Regions from separate parts of the Homo sapiens genome. Here all the other regions are linked to region 2. Evidence: promoter capture Hi-C in 16 types of primary human blood cells and fetal thymus (Javierre and others, 2016). All regions are on one chromosome and are shown on one strand. The core of a region is centred on a gene start or on the middle of the fragment in contact, and the rest is flanking DNA. Distances in the headings are between cores, read along the strand shown. Region 1 overlaps TPP1 (tripeptidyl peptidase 1). Region 2 holds the start of TRIM22 (tripartite motif containing 22). Region 3 overlaps APBB1 (amyloid beta precursor protein binding family B member 1). Region 4 holds the start of APBB1 (amyloid beta precursor protein binding family B member 1). Region 5 holds the start of CAVIN3 (caveolae associated protein 3).

What was found. Contacts are between HindIII fragments. The CHiCAGO score rates a contact against its expected background, and 5 or more counts as called.
Region 1: a fragment that was not itself captured here is called in contact with the fragment with the promoter of TRIM22 in region 2 in 1 of 17 cell types (activated CD4 T cells); the score reaches 6.0 in activated CD4 T cells.
Region 3: a fragment that was not itself captured here is called in contact with the fragment with the promoter of TRIM22 in region 2 in 1 of 17 cell types (non-activated CD4 T cells); the score reaches 5.2 in non-activated CD4 T cells.
Region 4: a contact is called between the fragment with the promoter of APBB1 here and the fragment with the promoter of TRIM22 in region 2, in 2 of 17 cell types (non-activated CD4 T cells and activated CD4 T cells). The highest score is 7.2, in non-activated CD4 T cells.
Region 5: the fragment with the promoter of CAVIN3 here is called in contact with the fragment with the promoter of TRIM22 in region 2 in 4 of 17 cell types (M1 macrophages, M0 macrophages, endothelial precursors and 1 more); the score reaches 9.0 in M1 macrophages.

Annotation. Positions count from the first base shown.
Region 1 is chr11:6,615,738-6,618,237 of GRCh38, forward strand. It overlaps TPP1 (tripeptidyl peptidase 1), which reads right to left. Exons shown (of 13, transcript NM_000391.4): 4 at 1,889-2,039; 5 at 1,564-1,691; 6 at 1,238-1,416; 7 at 924-1,122; 8 at 578-766; 9 at 268-337. Among named protein-coding and RNA genes, the nearest start is that of TPP1, 2.4 kb to the right of the region's middle. The HindIII fragment of the contact is 2,193 bases long and covers 155-2,347 here.
Region 2 is chr11:5,688,455-5,691,154 of GRCh38, forward strand. TRIM22 (tripartite motif containing 22) reads left to right here and starts at 1,336. Exons shown (of 8, transcript NM_006074.5): 1 at 1,336-1,445. It overlaps LOC124902620 (a long non-coding RNA gene), which reads right to left. Exons shown (of 2, transcript XR_007062561.1): 1 at 2,224-2,700; 2 at 1,773-1,842. RefSeq lists enhancers at 1,016-2,008, 1,130-1,469, 1,441-2,640, 2,056-2,155. The HindIII fragment of the contact is 4,665 bases long and covers 1-2,341 here.
Region 3 is chr11:6,400,660-6,403,359 of GRCh38, forward strand. It overlaps APBB1 (amyloid beta precursor protein binding family B member 1), which reads right to left. Exons shown (of 15, transcript NM_001164.5): 5 at 2,660-2,700; 6 at 2,486-2,549; 7 at 1,917-2,066; 8 at 1,423-1,550; 9 at 1,318-1,323; 10 at 915-1,029; 11 at 686-770; 12 at 330-413. Among named protein-coding and RNA genes, the nearest start is that of SMPD1, 12 kb to the left of the region's middle. The HindIII fragment of the contact is 2,462 bases long and covers 55-2,516 here.
Region 4 is chr11:6,417,757-6,420,456 of GRCh38, forward strand. It overlaps APBB1 (amyloid beta precursor protein binding family B member 1), which reads right to left and starts at 1,338. Exons shown (of 15, transcript NM_001164.5): 1 at 1,229-1,338. RefSeq lists silencers at 1,106-1,295, 1,306-1,705. The HindIII fragment of the contact is 2,464 bases long and covers 279-2,700 here.
Region 5 is chr11:6,319,251-6,321,950 of GRCh38, forward strand. CAVIN3 (caveolae associated protein 3) reads right to left here and starts at 1,251. Exons shown (of 2, transcript NM_145040.3): 1 at 843-1,251; 2 at 1-314. The coding sequence starts at 1,226. LOC101927825 (a long non-coding RNA gene) reads left to right here. Exons shown (of 7, transcript XR_930998.4): 1 at 1-447. RefSeq lists enhancers at 1-664, 1,208-1,257, 1,468-1,827, 1,838-1,897, 1,928-2,017. The HindIII fragment of the contact is 4,344 bases long and covers 1-1,979 here.

The DNA of each region.
Region 1 (2,500 bases), core at 1-2,500, 930 kb after region 2:
GCACACTTTTCTCTACAGAACACCCACCAAATCTTCCACTAAAATGCCTGGGAACTGACGAAAAGGAACAATGGGAGCTGTATCCCACACAAGAGATTTGGGGCCTGGGACCTGCAGGAAGAAGAGACAGGAGTACAGCAACCAGGGCAGGCAAAGCTTAAGGCTGAACCACAGGAGCACATGGTGGGGTCAAGACAAAGGTTCTACATCATGAGATCACAAGTGAAAGGTGGTGGTTATACCTGAGTGGTAGGCTAGAGTACTTACCTGGAGGCAGGGAAGGTAGGGCGGAACTGGTGTCTTCCAGAGACAGACCAACACCCGGCCCCACTGTCACCTGAGAGAGACCAAGTGTAGCATTCATATTAATTGGTTAGGGCTTAGTATGTGGGTTCGGATGTCAGAGGGGAAATTTGTTACTGTAGGAGGTCAGAGTGTAGAGGTCAGGTCAGTGGTCCCTACTGGAAGGTCTGAGTTCAGATTATGAGTCAGAGACCAGGCTCAGGGATCACTGTGGAGTCAAAGCTCCCAGGCTGCAGAGGTGTAAGCATTGTCTAAGTTTAGGGTAGGAGGTCACCTGAGGCGAAGAGCAGGGTGAGACCCCGAGCGGCAGCCTTCATGAGCTCAGTGTTGACCCGCTGGATGTAGGCGCTGCTGAGGGAGTCCTCATCATCTCCATAGCTCACAGTATGCACATGTGGCAGGGCTGACTCATTACTGAGCAGCATGAGCCACTGCAGGAAGGGCTCCTGTCCCTCATGCCGGCCTGGATTTTTTTTTTTTTTTTTTTTGAGGGATGGGCACAAAGATAGTCACTGGGGGTTGTCAGGATCTCTCTCCAGCTTATAGCATTCCCTTGAGGGAGCAGGGATCAACACCCATCTCCCACCCCCTTCCCCACTGTCCAGTCCTCTTGGTAGTACCAGGGCTACTGTAGACCCAGGTGGAGATGTTGGCACCAGCACTCATCAGGTACTGCACATCTAGACTGGCCTCAATCCCGGCCCGGCCCCGGCCCTGTTGTCCAACCACACGGGCTACTGATGCCTGATGTGCAAAGTTGCCACCGAAGAGGCGCATGAACTGAGCCAGGTCTGAGTCATGGAAATACTGCTCCAGGAACTATGGAGGGAGTCAGAGCAGAGATCGTGGGTCCGAGGGTGAGTCCCAGGGTGGTAAGGAATTGAGGACACTGTGGGGAGGCTATGAGGACCCTGGGGCTCTTTGCTTGGCTCACCTGGGCACAGGCTTGGCTGTTATTGCTGGTGCCAGAGCCCACGTCTTGTGAGGTCAAGTTGTATCGCTTACGGATCACAGAGGGGGTTACCCCCAGATGCAGGCCTACAGTCCCTGTCACCTGCGGCTCAGGACGTTGCCTCAGGGATGATGTTGGGGGAAAACGGTGCAGTCCCCCCACTGTAGGGAGAAGTCAGGCTTGAGGAGATCTTATAGACTGTAATGCCCACCTTACAACTCACCCCACCCCCAGTCCCCAATGGCATCTAAACTTCCTCAGCCCCTGGATCTGTGTGCCCCAACCCCCATTCACCCCATAGGTGTTACCAAAGTCCACATGGGGGGCCAAGGCCTGTGGAAGCTGGTAGGGATGTGGGGACCTTACAACATGGGTTTCCGTAGGTCCTCCCACATAGTGATGAAACTCAGCCCCAGGGAGCAGCAGCTCTGCTTGTCTGGAGGTCAGAGAACAGAGGTCAGAAAGCTCAAAACGGAACAGAAGAAGCTACCTCTGAGCATCCCTGGGCAGTCAGTCACTGTCTCCCCATGCATTAGCTCCCACCCACAAGCCCCAGCAAGCTCTCAACTCCCTCCCATCCATCTCACTGATGGGATGACTGGTGCCCTCCATGGAGCAATCATTTCCTCTCACCGGATGCTCAGCCAGCAAGTCAGAAAGTCCTGTGTGATCACAGAATGGCACTTCTGGGCTCCGGCTGCCAAGAGCCATTTTTGCACCGTGTGGAGGGTCAGTGGGGATGGCCTCACCAGATCAGCCACATTCTCTAGGGTCAGGTATTTTCCTGCAGGGATTCAGAAGAGGCACTTGCCCTCATTCATTGCTTTCCCAAACTCCCCCTTTTGGACCTCAACTATGAGACATCAGGACTTCCCAAAGCCTGGAACAGGGTAAAGGAGGGCTATGTGTGCAGGTGTAGGGTGTACTTGGGAAGCAGAGGAAGAAAAGGCTGGAGAGACTTGAAATGCCATGGCCAATAATATGGATTTACCCTAAAGGCCAGTAAGTTGCAAATGTCGCACCACAGCATGTATTGCCATGATCATGAAAATGAATGAGGTTAATACATATAAATTTTCCATTTTAATTTTAAGCTTATGTCCGGTAAATGTTTTCAAATCTTTCGGTACCAGTTATTCAGTTTAGCTCAAATTTGCATACTTGTTGATTTTAAGCTTAACACGATGGTGAGTCACTGTTTCCTGCCATGCACACTAGTGTCACACTGCCCCGTCCCCAGCCTCT
Region 2 (2,700 bases), core at 86-2,585:
TGTGTATCATTGATTAAAGTATGAAGATGGCCATGCTCCATAGTGTCAGTCAGGGATCCATGTTATGGAAGCTCCATGAGTTGCCTTTTTTTTTCTTTTTTTTTGGGTGTGTGTGTGTATGTGTTGTGTGGTGTTTGTTTGTTTGTTTTTTGTAGAGACAGGGTCTTACTATGTCACCCAGGCTGCAGTGCTATGGTGCAATGACGCAATCTTGGCTCAATGCAACCTCCACCTCCTGGGCTCAAGCCATCCTCCCATCTCAGTTTCCTGAGTAGCTGGGACTACAGGTGCACATCACCACACCCAGCTATTTTTTTTTTTTTAATTTTTCTTAGAGATGGGATTTCACCATGTTGCCCAGGCTGGTGTTGAAGTCCTGGACTCAAGTGATCCACCCACCTGGGCCTCCCAGAGTGCTGGGATTACAGGCATGAGACACCACAGGCCTCCATCAGTTTTTGATGGCATTATCTGGCACATGCAGTTAAACAAGAATACAATAGACAACAGGGTACAGAAGTATGTGCATGACGTATAACATGTTTCAGTGCTGCTTTTTAATTGATTGTGTAAAAATGACCAAACTTTTCTTAGAGAAGCAGGGAAAAGTGGAAAAATTATGAAGGCATGAGAGTAACTCAATGAATGATTATAATTAAACAGCATCATCTGTTAACTTCCATGTTCTCACCTGCCTCAGTGGCTGGGTAACATGACACTGACACAGTTTTACCTCTATTACTCTCTGGAATCCATCCTCATCTGGTCTGTCTGGATTAGGAGCAGGAAGTGATAATTAATTGATGGACTCTTAAGATTTAATGACATTTTGAGAACATTTTTTTCAATGGGCTCACACTAAAGATCCTTTTATTTATAAAAATAATTTTTTTACCATTCACAATGTCAGCTGCTAATACTCATCTTGTCAGCCCAAATTTGTAGAGCTTTATAACTGAGTATCTTCCTCGTCAGACTGCATTTCAAGAAGCTAGGTCCCAAGTCTCTGGATCTTTATTTTCCTGGCTTAGGTCTTAAATATAAGATAAATTCGACTAATAATTATAGGACTGCATTGGAATTCTAAGTATTCAGGCAAGCTGTATAACTGTAATTCACATTCTTTTTATTCAAATATTCTTGCTTGAGTAAACCACAGTAAGAATAAGGAAGTAGTGACTGAGTGCCTTGCCAGTACAGCAGATGCTAGAACATAATGTAGCATTACTTTCCCCAGGGTTTATTGTTATGTAAGTTCTTGTTCAGCTTCCTTTGTTTTCTTTCACTTCTGAGAATTTAACTTTCGTTTCTCACTCAGCTCCTGTGGGGAAACTCATTTGTGGAGACCAGCCCTCTGGCTTGGTGAGTGAATCTGGTTTACACCGGCTCCTGCCCTGCCTTCACTCTTCTCCCCTGATTCAAGACTCCTCTGCTTTGGACTGAAGGTGAGTGGAGCAATCTGTGGGAGCATAGAATGGGAGGCTTTGAGAAGAATAGATTGATTGTGTCTGGGTGAGTTTAATTTGTAGTTCTGAAGCTGCTCTGCATAAACAAAAAGAGGCAGCTTGTGAACTGTCTGCTGAGATGGCAGAGGAAGAAAGCACTGAGTCTGGGAGAGGGGTAACCTTTAAAGAAGAGAGGTTTGCAAAAGCAAAAAGCCTTGCTTGTTTCCTAGAGGGACCATTCATTTCTTCAATCTAGGTACCTCCATCACCTTCCTTGTTGGAAATAAAGCTCAGAATCTTAAGGGAGACGAGCACTCAAACAAAGGATTTCTCAGCAAAGCAATTTTATTTCTGTGCAGAGGGGTGCTTCTTCTTTGCCAGTCGCCATGAGAGCACACTAGAACAAAGGAGGAAGAAAGTTTTTATTCCTGACGCAAATCCTACCCCTTTGCCCTTTCCCCATTGGCTGGAGTCGGCCACACAATCTAAACTAGACTCAGTTGGCTAAACATTTTAACTTTCTTTAGATAAGGTGGGCACGTGAGGGAGAGAGGGGAGATGGGGAAGGGGTGTGTGTGATGAGCTAGATAACTAATCTTCTTCCAAAATAAGGAAAGGAATGTGAGTTGGTACTGATAACGCCTGGTACTGTGACATGTCTAGGCATGTAGCAAAAGCAGAAAGGAAAGAGAAGAGAAGAAAAGTGAAGTGGGGAGGGGCACTGTGAATTAAAGAATAAAGGATTGATCAGGCTATTTGAAGAGAAACCTTATCATACCCCACATTCCTATTCTGTCATTTTGATTTTTCCATTTTGCCAACGTGGATCAGAATTTTCTTTTATTCAGAGGCAGCAAATTCCTTCCTCCTTTCTCCCGAAGAAGCCTGTGCAATGAAGCTTTGTTTTCACTTTTCATAAAGCAACCTCATGATGAGGTTCAGCAGGGATGAGAGCCCTTATCTGGATCTGGGTATGAGGCGAAGGAGTCTTAGGTACTCAGTCTTCAGAAGTAAGGCCCTTTTGAAGGTTATCCTTTTACTTGCCTTCTGGTAACTTTTTGGATGCTGTCCATAGCTTTCCTGATAAATTAGCAGCCCTCTGGTTAGTCCGAGGAGAGAGGCCGCAGGACGGGCAGACTGCTGCTCATCTCTGCAGCTCCACTTTGGTCTCTTGTCTCTGAAGGTCCAGTCACAGGGAACTTGTTCTTCTGAGTACCCACAGCTTACTCTTCCTTTGTAGCAGGACCAGCCACAG
Region 3 (2,700 bases), core at 36-2,535, 710 kb after region 2:
GGCTGCTGTCTGGTGTCCTCCAGTCATCTAACATCAGCCTCCCAATCCCACCAAAGCTTTTCCATGGGATGAAGGAGTGGGGTCTCCCTTTGTGCCTGGTTCAGCACCACTCACGTGGCTGATGCTCAGCGAAGGCGTGCTGACTGCTGCTATAGGCAGGACAGGAAATAGAGCTAGGACAGAAGTATGGGGAGGTGGGATGCATTTTAAAGGGTAGGGAGACACCAAGCATGAGGAAGGTCTGGTAGAAGAAGTATTGGAAGGCAGAGGGTAGGGGCAGAGTTTTAGGATCAAGGTAGCAGCCCCTGGGTATAGAAGGACACACATACCAACAGGTTTAGCAACAGGTACATTCCCCAGGTAATAGACTTGGAACTTCTGGACCAACTCATTCTTAGGCGCTGGGAATTCCACTATGGGAAAGAAGAGAAGGTTGATCATGGTGGCAGACCTTGCTCACCCGCAGCCCCACCAGCAGGGCATAAGCTGGACACTTGCCCAGCCGAGGCCCTACTTTCATCTCGTCCCCTGCCTCCCTTTAACCGGAGTCCCTCCACGTATTGGAGTATTCAGTCTTCATGTGTTCATTTTTCTATCAGCGCTGTCCAGGAGCTCATGCCTTTCCTTGGGTCACCCACCTTTGCCAACAAAGCTGAGCTGGACCTGGAGGGGTTTTGACACTGACCTTGGAAAGGGACATCCACAAGTTTAGAGTGGTCCAGGGAGAGTCCATTTACCAAGCAGCGGGCATTACGCCGTTCGGCCATGATCTGAGGAAGGAAGGGAGGCGAGGAGCCAGGGAGAATCTATTAGAGCCTCATTGCCCTGGGGCCCCCCTACAGCACTCAGTGACCCCACCCACACCCTTGTAGAGCAAAGGTGGCAACTAGTCCAGGGAGTGGAGGGGGCCGTGCCTTAGAGCAGATCTCATGCAGGCTGGTGGCGATGTTCTTGGCAGGTGCCTCACAGCGAAACACGTGGCACTTGAGCATCTGGGTCAGCTTATCACGAGCTACGTAGGCAAAGTCCCTGTTGGGGAAGGGGCACCTCAGTGTCTCCCAGTACCATCCAGTGCTGAGCCTGGTCCCCACCCCACCCACGTCCTCCCTGCCCATCACAGCTCCTCCAGGGCTTCTGCCCACAGCTGGTCCCCCATAGGTGCTGCCTTCTTGGGGGGGAGGGGTAGACAGGCAAGCATGCTGAGGTGGAGGGTAATGGTGGAGCATAGCGGGTGGGAAGGGGCAGGGCAGAAGAGGGGAGCTTGGGTGCTTCCAGGCATCTGGTCCAGGTGTAGGAGGGGGAAAATAGGCATAGTACCTCTCTCTGGGTCCAGCAGCACAAGAGAGGCAAATAACAGAGTTAGAGAGGAGGACTCTGATGCTGGATGAACTCCCACCCTCGAATCCCAAGCCCTATTCCCACCTTCCACTGTCCCGCCCGACGCCCCACACGCGGATGCTGATGATGGGTTGGGCGTGCAGCAGTGCCTGGCTCTGTGGCTCCACTAGCTTTAGTGTCTCATCCTCCAGCTGCAGTAGCAGATCCTTTCCCTGCAGGACCAGAAGCAGGCACTCAGTGGGACTCCAGCCAGGATGGTGGCTGATCTCTGACCCCTGCAGCTCAGGGGATGTTAGCCACAGCTCTGGGGCCCCTGCTTTGGTGTCAGACCGCCCGCCCTGCAGGCCTCACTCTAGTGGAGGTCACGTGTCATCTCTCACATTGACTCCACCGTTGTTAGGCGACTATCTCCCAAGGTCCTGGCCTGGGGTCGCTCATCCATCCCACAGGGCTGCCACTTAGGATGGGCCAATATCCCCCTTCCCCAGCCTGCTTGTGGGCAGGTCAGACCTCCCATCTCTCATAATTCCCTTCACACTCTCACAGTACCACCCCCTACCCCCGGCTCAGGTCCTTACTTCCCCCCAGCCCCCAGACATGGGGTCATGCAGGTTGTTTTTGTGGTAAGAGAGCTGACGGATGCAATTGTTGACTGCCACACTGCTGCGTCCAGGGGCCAGCTCCTCCTCGGTCATCTCTACCCAGCCTAGGGAGCGCACGGCGAAACACTGCCAGACACAGAAGAGGGGCAGGAGGTAGAGGATCTGAGTCAAAACTGGAGAGTTCCTGACTACAGAGTGTGGCAGGAGGCAGGGTGTTCTGAACTAAGACGGAGAAGCTCCCCAAACAGGATGTGGTTAGGGAGAGGGGGATGTGGTTAGGGTGAGGGAGATGTCAGATGAGACCCCAGCTAGTACAAAAAAGCACCTGAACTAAGACTACAAGGGCCCCCAACCTGGCTGTTGGGCTGGTTGATTTAAAAACTGAAGTGCCTCCAGCTCAGACACAGGGCTCTGTGCTGAGACTGGAAGAACTCCTAACTCAGGACCTGGGGAACTGCGCTGAGACCCCTCAGAGCACAACATTAGGGGCTGTCTGACAAATAAGAGGGCCCCAGACTCAGAATGGGTGTCAGTCTTGAACAAACCTTGATCCCTGGGTTGGTATTCCGTGGGGGAAGCTTCTCCTCCTCTTGGGGCAACGGCTCTGGGCTGAAGGCAGATGGTAATACTTGGCACAGGGCTCCCATAAATGGAGCTGTCCCAAGGCCCCTTCCAGACAGATCCATCCCACTGCCAGCTCACTGCATCTGGCAGCTCACCTGAGGCTCTGAGCTGGGAAGGTCAACGTCCCCTCCTCAGG
Region 4 (2,700 bases), core at 88-2,587, 730 kb after region 2:
GATGCAGAGAGTGAGAGAGGGGTTAATCTCAAGTCTTGCTCATGACTCCAGATTGGCAAAGAGCCATTTTTGAGATTCGAAGGAAGAACAGATTTGGAAGTGGGGTACAGAGAAAACCACAGAAGATAATTTAGCTTGGAATCTATAGGTTTGGAACTCCTGTTTGTCTTTCAAGGAGATGTCAAGAGAGCAGCTGGACATATGAGTCTGGATTTCAGGAAAGAAGTCTGGGCTGGATATATAAATTTGGGAATCATTAGCATATATATGAAATTTGAAGCTTTGGGAGTAGATAAAATATCTGGGGAGAAAGAACAGATACTGAGAGAAGACAGCTCGGGACAGAGCCAAGAGCCTCACCAGCATCTAAAGAGAGGAGGAGAGGAAGCAAATGAGATTGAGAAGAGCAGACAATGCTGTAGGGCAGAAAGCAGGAAAATGCTTCAAGGAGAGTGAGTTGACATACCCCACCGAATACTACTCAAAGGTAAAGGAGATAACAGTGTCCACTGGAGTTCTCCACAAGGAGGTCTCCGGTGACCTTGGCCTAGACAGTTTCAGTGGGTGTCAGGGACACAGAGTGGAGTGCTTTTAAGAATGAATGGGAAGTAAGGAAATGAAGACAGCAAGCGTTGACTCTGAAGGGCGGAGAGAGCTGGGACTATAGCTAGAGGGGCTCAGAATGCAAGAGATACACAGGCCGATACAAAACAGGTTAGGAATTGGCAGTGGGAAAACTGCTTCTAATCAGTGTTCTTGGCAGTGCTAGGCCTCCTGGCTGAGCTGGGGACACAGCCGCCCCAGGGCACACCCCTCGGTCGCTGAGGGCAACAGAATGCGGCTTGACAGATCCAGGGCCTGGGACCCCTGCTGGAATCGGCGCGGCCTGCCAGCCCACCCCACCCCACGTCCCCTTCCCGGACCTGGGCCTCCCCTCCCCCAACACCCACTGCCCCTCGCTTCGCGTCCTCCATACCCGCCCCTAGTCACCCCGAGGGGCAGGAGGTAAAGGGCAGCGGAAGGGACGGTGTGAGGGCCCGAGTGGACCCTGCGATGGTGGGTATGAGAGGACGGTCTGCGGGCGCGCGGTGGAAGGGCGACCCGGGGATGGGGGATGGGGCCGGCCGGGGGACCCGGGCTGCCGCAGGGTAGGGGCTACAGGGTCCGCCGGCCGCTGGTGATCGGGACGCAGCCACCGGGGCTGGGCCGGGGCAGGGACACCTCCTACCTGCGCGGTGAGGCCCCGGGCCCAGATGACGGAGGTGGCTCAGGCTGCGGGGTTCGGGCTCCGCCGCGGCTTCTCCATCACAACATCCCCCGCCCAGGAGCGCGCGGGCCGCGGGGCCGCGCCCCGAGCGGCGGAGGCGCGCGCAAGGGGAGGGGGAGGGGCGCCATCTTGGGGCGGGCGCGGGAGCGAGCTCGGCGGGCGCGGCACTTGCCGCAGCTTCTTGGGGGCCTCACCCTGCGGGCGGCCCTCGGACCTCGGTGAGCCCCGCGGTCCAGCCCTCCCAGCAGACACCCCTGCAGCCGACTCCCTGGGACCCCCGCCTAGCGCGGCGCCGTCCTCCACTACTATTCCACAGACTCACCCTGCGCGCCCCGCAGCGCCCTGGTCCCGCACCCACGCCGGGAGACGCGCGGACGGGGCTGGAGCCCGAATGGCGGCGGCTGTGCGGCGCCGCGGCCGCGCGGGGAAGGATTCCCGGGAGGCACTCTGCGCCGCTCCTGCTGCACCGCTCCCTGACGTCCTGGTGGGGAGGCTCTGAGGACACAGCGTTGCTCATAATAATAGCTCGTATTTATTGACCACTTACACCGTGCCGGGCTCTCTATTAAACCGTTAACGCGCATTAATCTTCACATCAGCTCTGTAAAATCACCAGAATTATTATCCTCATTTTTCAGAGGCTGAGGCTAAGATTAAGAGAGGTAAAGCGACTTGCCCGCAGTCACAGTTAGTGATGAATTTAGACTGGAACTCCGATGTTTCTTGACACTGAAATACCTCTGCTGCTGAGCATAAAGCTGACATCAAGGCCTGGAAAATGTCAAGAATACATTGCTCCCCGGTAGAAATTCACAAGGAAGGGGATATTGTGAATGAAAAGTGTAAAGATGTAAGGAAGATGGTGGGGTGCAATACTTACTACAGACCCTCCCTGGATAGTGGGATACATCCCAATGGTCAGATCAGTGACCCAGAGGCCATCAAGGATAATGAGAGGTTATATTACCATCCAGAAAGCCTCTACATGCTAATCCCTCTCAGGTGCCTAAAACTAAAGATATCCAAATCTGAGTTCGTTCTTTCTTTCAAGGCAGGGTCTCACTCTGTCACCCAGGGGCAAGATCATGGCTCTCTGAAGCCTCAGCCTCCAGGGCTCAGATTCCTCCCGCCTCAGCCCCCGGAGTACCTGGGCCACAGACATGTGCCACCGCGCCTGGCTTTTTGTATTTTAGTAGAGAGGGGGTCTCACTGTGTTCCCCAGGCTGGTCTGGAACTCCTGTGTTCAAGCGATCCTCCCACCTCGGCCTCCCAAAGTGCTGAGATTACAGGCGTCAGACACAGTGTCCAGCCTCAATTTATTGTTTCATCCCCCTTTATTAGTCTTTTAAGGAGTTTCACTGGGGTGAAAAAGAACCCTCTTCAACACACACAACACAACACACATCCCACACTGGACACAACTCCATTCCATC
Region 5 (2,700 bases), core at 1-2,500, 630 kb after region 2:
TCCAGCGTGGGCTCCAGCGCAGGCTGGGCTTCCGGCTGGGCTTCAGCGCTCCGGCCAGGCCCAAGGCGAGGCGGCTTGACCGGGGTGGGCGGTGGCGCTGCAGGGCCTTTCCGGCCCGAAAGGGCCCTTCGGAGGCTCTGTACCTTCTGCAATCCGGTGCGCCGCAGCCGCTGGGCCCTGGACTCCACCGGCTCCTCGTCCGAGCTCTCTCCAACTTCGGCCTCCAGCTGCTCTGGGCCCAGCTCGGACTGGTCCGCCGGGCCCAAGGGCTCTGGTGCCTTCTGGAAAGCGCTGGCTGGGACTTCACCCTCCTCCTGCATGTGACGGACACAGCACTGATCCTGGCAGCTCCTTACCCCCAGCAGCCCGAAACTCACTCCTTAATTACACAAGGGAAACCTTTTACCTCCGCAGCCAGAGTCTGGGGGGAAAGGCAGGCGTGGGAAGGTAAGGGGAGGGAAAGCTGCGTGCGAACTGCAAAACGCTGTAAAGTAGGTGAGGCCTGGTGAGGGGCGAGAAGAGGATAGTGCCCGCAGTCACGGAATGCCCTTTCAACCACCGTTATTTTAGGGATTGGCTGGGACTCAGACCAAATTCTGCGGACGTGGCCTGAGCTAGAGCTGGGCGGGCTTGGATTGGCCAGGCGGGGCTCAGGCGTGAGAGGGAGGGATGGGGCTGGGTCTTGGGAAGTGGGTGCGGCTCTGTGAGTCTGTTCCACAGCAACAGACGGCGGGAGGGGTCAGGAATGTGGGTGTGGTAGGTGGATGGAAGCGGGGAGCCCCCAGCTGGTGGCCCACAGGCCGGCAAAGGCCTCGGATTGGGGACCGTTTGAGGTCACTGACCTTGAAGAGCAGAACGTGGAGCTTCCCGCGCGCCACCAGCAGCCCGTGGTTGGCCTCCAGCCGCTGCACCTGGGCTGCGCGGCGCACCGCGCGCTCTTGGGCGGCGTTGGCGTGCGAGCTCACGCGCTCCGCCTTGGCCAGCAGCTGCGCCAAGGTGTTGCTGGTGGTGTCGTGGCTGCGACTCAGAGCGCCCAGGCCGCTCTGGATGCGGCGCACGGACCCTGCCAGGCCTCCCTGCCTTCGAGCCAGGCCTCCCTGCCGCTCCCGCAGAGTCTCCAGCATGGAGGCCAGCTTCTCCAGCAGGGTCACCACCGTCACGGCGTGCACGGGACCCCCCGCCGGCGCCTCGGGCACAGGCCCCCGCTCCAACGCACTCTCCCTCATGATCCCTGACCGCTCTGCTCCGTCTGCCTGCAACTGCTGGCCGCACTACGGTCAGGGGCCTCCTTTCCCTGGCTCCTCCCCAGCTCCAGCTGTGACTCAGGCAGGCGGAGTTGGCCTTCTGGGGCGGCGGGAGGGCGCGAGGGCGTGGGGATGTTGGCAGCGGGGTCTCTTGAAAGCGTTTCGCCTTCCGCTGTCCCGCGCCGGGGGCCTGCTGGGAAGCCTGTTGGCCCCAAATCGGCCCCCTGCAAACCCTCTCACTCTGAGTTTGAGTTACCCTCCTCCGCTCCAATTCCCTGGTGTGCCTGTTTCAGTTCTCCACTGCAAAGGGCGAGTCACGGAAATTTTTATTTCATGCATCTTAGTGGGCGCAGAGACTGTGTTGGCACGGCAAAGAGATAACCAGAGGGGCCTCCGTCGCCGTCCACTTTCGGCCTCCCACACCAGTGAAGATTGCCCCCAGGCTGGATGCAGGCGACAGGGAGGCCCTGGAACATTCTGCTTACAGATCGCGAACTGTCAAGGCCCGAGGCCCCGCTTTGTGACTTGGACAGGCTGCTCATTGTGGGCTGGCGGGCGGGGCATCCTCTGGTGTTTTCCTAATAGTCATCTCCAGGGTTTAGCCTCAGGCTTCGTTTCCTGCTTCTTTATTTCGTCCTCTTGGGTAGCATTATCTGGTTTCTTTTCTCTAGTTTTCTGCCCTCTCTTTCTTTGGGTTTCACTGGTAAATCTCAGCCGCCCCGGCCCCAGCACCCAAGCTTGGAGGATAAGCAGGACACCTTCACCTCTTTTAAAATCCTTAAAAGCGTTAGACTAGGCACTGGTCTTTGCTTTGATAGAGGTTACTTGGGCTCCTGCCTGACTTTTTTTGCTTGTTTGTTTGTTTCTTGTGTTCTGTGGAACTGCGGAGAGTAAAGATTTGAAATTGCTGCTGCAGAGAGGGAGAGAGTGGGCATGGAGGATCCAGTTAATGATGTGGATTGTGAATTTCTAATGTCAGCAGTTCGAAACATCCCATGCCTTAGCCGGGCGCGGTGGCTCATGCTTGTAATCCCACCACTTTGGGAGGCCGAGGGGGGAGGATCACGTGAGGCAGGGAGTTCCAGACCAGCCTGGGCAACATGGCAAAACCCCGTCTCTACTAAAAATACAAAAATTAGCAGGGCGTTGTGACACACGCCTGTAATCCCAGCTACTCGGGAGGGCTGAGGCAGAAGAATCGTTTGAACCTGGGAGGCAGAGAATGCAGTAAACCAAGATTGCTCCACTGCACTACAGCCTGGAGGACAGAGCAAGACTCCATCTCAAAAAAAAAAGAAAAGAAAAAAGAAAATCCCGTGCCTTGTTTGTAGCAATACTTGGCAAACCGTCTCACAAATGCAAGTAATCCATTAATCCTGATGATCTCTCTCCCTCTTCCTCTTCTCACTGAACCTGTGAGGGCCACTTGTTGACAACTGTGGAAGAAACTTGTGTC